2 separate regions of the Homo sapiens genome follow, and region 1 is linked to region 2. Evidence: promoter capture Hi-C in 16 types of primary human blood cells and fetal thymus (Javierre and others, 2016). All regions are on one chromosome and are shown on one strand. The core of a region is centred on a gene start or on the middle of the fragment in contact, and the rest is flanking DNA. Distances in the headings are between cores, read along the strand shown.

Evidence for each region. The method cuts DNA at HindIII sites, captures the fragments that hold promoters and counts their contacts. A CHiCAGO score of 5 or more calls a contact.
Region 1: a contact is called between the fragment with the promoter of DRICH1 here and the fragment with the promoter of DERL3 in region 2, in 1 of 17 cell types (naive CD4 T cells). The highest score is 6.0, in naive CD4 T cells.

Annotation. Positions count from the first base shown.
Region 1 is chr22:23,630,609-23,633,693 of GRCh38, reverse strand. It overlaps DRICH1 (aspartate rich 1), which reads left to right and starts at 1,373. Exons shown (of 12, transcript NM_016449.4): 1 at 1,373-1,878. The coding sequence starts at 1,671. It overlaps LOC124905089 (a long non-coding RNA gene), which reads left to right. Exons shown (of 3, transcript XR_007068021.1): 3 at 784-818. RefSeq lists a silencer at 197-334. The HindIII fragment of the contact is 16,342 bases long and covers 1,335-3,085 here.
Region 2 is chr22:23,837,670-23,840,369 of GRCh38, reverse strand. It overlaps DERL3 (derlin 3), which reads left to right and starts at 1,364. Exons shown (of 7, transcript NM_001002862.3): 1 at 1,364-1,475; 2 at 1,594-1,659; 3 at 1,733-1,806; 4 at 1,925-2,018; 5 at 2,516-2,700. The coding sequence starts at 1,383. SMARCB1 (SWI/SNF related BAF chromatin remodeling complex subunit B1) reads right to left here. Exons shown (of 9, transcript NM_003073.5): 9 at 2,361-2,700. RefSeq lists a silencer at 1,139-1,441. The HindIII fragment of the contact is 14,043 bases long and covers 1-2,700 here.

The DNA of each region.
Region 1 (3,085 bases), core at 124-2,623, 210 kb after region 2:
ACTGTGGGGTTCTCAATTTTGTATAAGAAAATAATGTTTTATGATTTGTTAGTAAAAGAAATACCTGAGGCTGGGCATGGTGGTTCATGCCTGTAATCCCAGCACTTTGGGAGGACGAGGCGGGTGGATCACCTGAGATGAGTTCAAGACCAGCCTGACCAACATGGTGAAACCCTCGTCTCTACTAGAAATACAAAAATTAGCCAGATGCGGTGGCGTGTGCCTGTAGTCCAGGCTACTCAGGAGGCTGAGGCTGGAGAATCGCTTGAACCTGGGAGGTGGAGGTTACAGTGAGCCGAGATCGTGCCACTGCACTCCAGCCTGGTCGACAGAGCAATAGTCCATCTCAAAAAATAAATAAATAAGTAAATAAAAGAAATATCTGAATACCCCTGCCATGGAAAGAAGAAACAGAGCGAGAAAAGGGAGTTGGTAGGTCGTAGCATTACAGAACTGGGAAGGATGTGTTCAGTCCCTATTTTATAGACGAGGAGGGAAGTGTGATGTGTCCCAGGGTTTCACTGAGGATACACAGCCATAACTCTCTATTGAGAGTGGGACCAGGGCCCTGGGGGTAGCTATGGTCAAGTTGCAGACAAGAACTAACACTTGTAAGACAGGAGAGAAGCATTTAATTAGAAAAGCAGTAAAAAATTTGTGTATAACTACATTTGGTGAGCAAATGAAAGCTGTCAGACTCAGAAAAACAGAACTGCTGGTGGAACTGACTTTAGTAACTGGGGTTTTCTTTCTTTTGTTTCTTTTTTTTTTTTTTTTTTAAAGACAGTTGCACCTTTGTCACCCAGGCTGGAGTGCAATGGTGTGATCTTGGCTCACTGTGCAACCTCCGCCTCCTGGATTCAAGCGATTCTCCTGCCTCAGCCTCCTGAGTAGCTAGGATTGCAGGTGCCCGCCACCAGGCCGAGCTAATATTTTGTATTTTTAGTAGAGACAAGTTTTCACCATGTTGGCCAGGCTGGTCTTGAACTCCTGACCTCAAGTGATCCACCCCCCCCGCTCAGCCTCCCAAAGTGCTAGGATTACAGGCGTGAGCCACCACTCCCGGCCATACCAGGGTTTTCTATTGAGTTTCTTGCCAAGGGTGACTCGCAATAACAACTCCCCCTGCACTTAGCTCAGGACTGGAAAGCTCAGGCAGCATAGGGTGAATAAAAGCCTGAGTAGTGCAGTCCCCACAGAGGGGCAGGGGGGCCACAAGGTGGGCAGCAGCAGGGACAGGCATTATGAGGCATTGGGGGGGGCTGTGGGGCTGGACATTGTGAGTCACTAGCCTGACCTGGCTGTTTCCTGGTAACCAGGTGACATAGGAAGCTTTGTGGGTTATAAGCATCAGCCAGGGCCAGCAGCCCTCAGTCAGTAGCTCGCAGTGGAGGGAGGAGGAGCTCCAACTGTGCTCTTTGATGGCAGTTTTTGCACCTTTGGGTGCTTGTCATGTTCGTTTATTTTTCAAAGAAGACAGCAGGTCCCTGACCTCATAGACCAGCTAGTTTGGGAGGTGGCGGCAGAATAAGGGCTGAGGACCCAGATCTGCCTGGGGTCAGGCTGCTTCTAAAAGTGCAGGGCCACCCTCAGTAGTGTGGCTGCTAGGGCAGCACAGTTACAATTTCGCTGAAGGCTGAGGCAGGAGTGGAGAGGCATGGAGAGGCCCCATGGGGAATATACTGACCTGTTGTATCAACTCCCACTGTGGCTGGCCCAGGGGGAAGGACGCACCCTGTTATGAATCTGATACTGATATTTATGAGACTGTGGCTGCTGCAACATCAGAATCCACTACTGTAGAGCCTGGCAAGCTGGATGTGGGAGCCACGGAGGGCCAAGACCTGCAGCACATCAGCAACCAAAAGATGCCCACAGGTAAAAAAGCCACGGGTGCCGTTTACCCTCTGGCACACCTCTGGCCACCCCCACCCCCTTCCCTTACCCTCATCCCCAGAGACATCCTCAGCTTCCAGCTCCCTCCTGTCCATAGCCAGCTTTCCCAGGTCTGGGCATGGGGGACAAAGGCTGACTCTGCCTCCTGTCTTTGTCGTTGAGACTTTTTGATCTAGAAAAGGGAGAGCCCTTTTCTCAATGAAAATTCAAATACCCCAATTTTGGAGTCCCCATCCCATTCTCTAGCCTCACCTATCTGGCCGGTTTGGTACCTAAATGAAGGAACCAGCTAAGGGTCAGATTGTTTTTCTTCCATCTCTTAAGGTAGCTTATTTTTTGTAAATTTTATTTATTATTTATTTATTTATTTATTTATTTATTTTAGATGGAGTCTTGCTCTGTTGCCCAGGCTGGAGTGCAGTGGCGGGATCTCAGCTCACTGCAACCTCTGCCTCCTGGGTTCAAGCGATTCTCTAGCATCAGCCTCCTGAGTAGGGACTACAGGTGCCCACTACCACGCCCGGCTAATTTTTTGTATTTTTAGTAGAGACGGGATTTCACTGTGTTAGCCAGAATGGTCTCGATCTCCTGACCTGGTGATCTGCCCGCCTCGGCCTCCCAAAGTGCTGTGATTACAGGCATGAGGCATCGCGCCCGGCTCCTAATTTAATTTTTTTTAAGTTCCGAGGTACATGTGCAGGATGTACAGGTTTGTTACGTAGGTAAAAGTGTGCCATGGTGGTTTGCTGCACCTGTCAACCCATCACCTAGGTATGAAGCCCTGCATGCATTAACTGTTTATCCATATTCTCTCCCTTCCCCTGCCCCCTGACAGGCCCCAGTGTGTATCATTCCCTGTCTAACACCGTACGTATTCTAAGACCACTCCTTTGCTGATGACAAATCTAAGTGATGGTTCGCAGGGGACTCTCTTCCCTGCTTCTGTCTGGAGAGCCTGCCTGGCTTCAGGTTCCTGATAGGAGTGAGGACCTGGAGTGCAGTGTGAGAAACAGATGGCTCAGTGAAGAACTGTCATCATCCACTAGAGTCCCTGGAAACAGCCGTGTCATTTAGATGATGTGGGTTTGTGTGCATGAGGGTTGGGAGATAGCCAGGGGTGAATTAATGTGTAGTGTTTGTAAATGTGTGTTTTCCCCCAAAAATGTGGACCCGCATGCCCAGCACAAGT
Region 2 (2,700 bases), core at 115-2,614:
CTTTAAGGTTGAATGGTATTGCATTGCATGTAGACAGCACATTTCGTCTGTCTCATCGGTGGGTGAACTGATGTGAACCATTGTGAATAATGGGGCCATGAACATGGGTGTATGAACATCTGTTCAAGTCCCTGCTTTTGATTCTTTTGAATGTGTACCCACAAGCAGCATTGCTGGATCATACGGTAATTCTATTTTTAATTTTTTGAGTCATGATCATATTGTTTTTCACAGCGGATGCACCATTTTATATTCCCACCAACGGTGCCCAAGGGTTCCAATTTCCCCATATCCTCGCCAACACTTATTTTGTTTTATTGTTTTGCTTTTCACAGTTACCATCCTGATGGACACAGGGATGCTTGCAAAGTGACAAACTTTAGAGGTATCCCAGGTCACCCCACCTGGCACTGCGGACGCCCACGTGGCCCCACCCCTCACTTGGCAATATTCTCATCAAGTGTCAGCACTAGCTTATTGTATTGACTGCCTCCTGGCTGGACTCTAAGAGACAGTGTCTTTTATTGCATGCTACATCCCCAACATCTAGAACAGTGTCAGGCAAACAGTTGTTTAATAAACGGTGGAAGGAAGGAAGGGAGGGAGGGAGGGAGGGAAGGAGGGAAGGAAGGTGGGTAGGTTGGTTTCTATTTTCCACCAAAATATTGAGGACCTCTCCTGCCTGTCCACTTGCTCTGGTGCGCCTCTCAACCCTCGCGCCCCACCTGGACTCAATCCCGCAGTCCTGCCTCTCCTTCCTTGGGCCCCCGGGGAAGAACCCCGACAGCGGCCGGCACATTTGAGTGGGGCCCTGGACGTTTGGGGAGGTTTGGACACATTCCCGAATGCCTCCCTGCTGTGGGTTAGGTGGGCCTGTCTTGGGCTGGCAGCGAGGACAACGTTGTGGCTAGGTCGTCAGTTAGTGAGCCAGCACGGTCTGAGCCGCCACACTCCGCGCCCCGCCCACGCGCCCCGCCCTTTCCAGTTTTGCCTCGCCTGCTCGGGTCTTCGCTCCTGTAACCCATACGATCTTAGCCCCGCCCCCGTGGTGTCGTGGGTCCACGCTACTGGTCCTCTCCTAGAAAGCCGCGAAATGACCAGTTCCTCATTGGCCACACGTTCTCCCGCGCCACCACCGCAGCCACAACAACCGCCACGTGCTCAACCTTGGCGCCTGCCCATTGGCCACCAGCCTCTACCCGCCCACTCTCCCTTTCCGCCCCTAATTTCCCTCTTCTTCCTTCCATTGGCTGTCGGGCTCAGGGGCTCTCTTTTCAGCCTGGGGCGCGCAGCGCCTCGGATGCGGATTGGCCGAAGGCGGGGCTGGGAGGCGGGTTAAAGAGCGCGTTGCTGGCTGGGCCACGCGTGCTTGAGAAGGTTCAATGGCGTGGCAGGGACTAGCGGCCGAGTTCCTGCAGGTGCCGGCGGTGACGCGGGCTTACACCGCAGCCTGTGTCCTCACCACCGCCGCGGTGGTAAGCGGCCGGGCGGACCGGACGTCGCCTTGGTTACAGCCTCTGGCGGGAGGGGTGAGGGTCGCCATGGTTACGGCGTGGCTCCCGGGCAGCTCTTGACTGGCCCCTGGTTCCACAGCAGCTGGAGCTCCTCAGCCCCTTTCAACTCTACTTCAACCCGCACCTTGTGTTCCGGAAGTTCCAGGTGAGGCCGCCCCGCGCCGCGCACCTGTGGGCCCGACCCACCCACCCCGCACCTGACCGCCCGTCCCCCGTAGGTCTGGAGGCTCGTCACCAACTTCCTCTTCTTCGGGCCCCTGGGATTCAGCTTCTTCTTCAACATGCTCTTCGTGTATCCTGCGCCCTGCGGACACGGGCTGGGTGGAGGGCAGGCCGGCCGGGCTGGGAGAGAGGCCGGGACGGGGAAACTGAGGCCCCGCCTGGTGGCACTTCCTATACCGACGCCGTAGGTTCCGCTACTGCCGCATGCTGGAAGAGGGCTCCTTCCGCGGCCGCACGGCCGACTTCGTCTTCATGTTTCTCTTCGGGGGCGTCCTTATGACCGTATCCTTCCCGCAGGCTCTGGAACCTCGGGCTAGGGCGCCTCGGCGTCCAGCCTGTGTTGGTCCTGGGGCCAACACAGCCATGCCAGAGAGGGACACAGTCGCTGTCTCCAGCTTAGTATGTGTTGAGGGCCCACTCTGTGCTCAGCTGCAGGGGTCAGGGCTAGATCTTCAGTGCTGTATGCAAAATACAAAGCCATGCACAAAAGAGCCAGGTGGGTTGTCAGGGCCACTAGCTGAGCCCTGAATGCGAGTAGCCGGGAGAAACTGGGGCAGGGACAGGCAGTGGTTGGGCCCTGGGATGAGGCTGTAGGTGTGCAGGGCAGATTTCGTGGGACCTGAAGCCCGTGGAGTGTGTCGCCTTTATTGGACTGGCTCATCTTGATGAGGGAATAGCACATAGGGGAGATGAGGGGAAGAATTCCAGGGTCTTGGGAAGTCAGAGGGGCCCTGGGCTTGGGCTGAGGCCTGCACCGGAGCACCTTGACTCTGGCCCAGCTGCTGGGACTCCTGGGCAGCCTGTTCTTCCTGGGCCAGGCCCTCATGGCCATGCTGGTGTACGTGTGGAGCCGCCGCAGCCCTCGGGTGAGGGTCAACTTCTTCGGCCTGCTCACTTTCCAGGCACCGTTCCTGCCTTGGGCGCTCATGGGCTTCTCGCTGCTGCTGGGCAACTCCATCCTCGT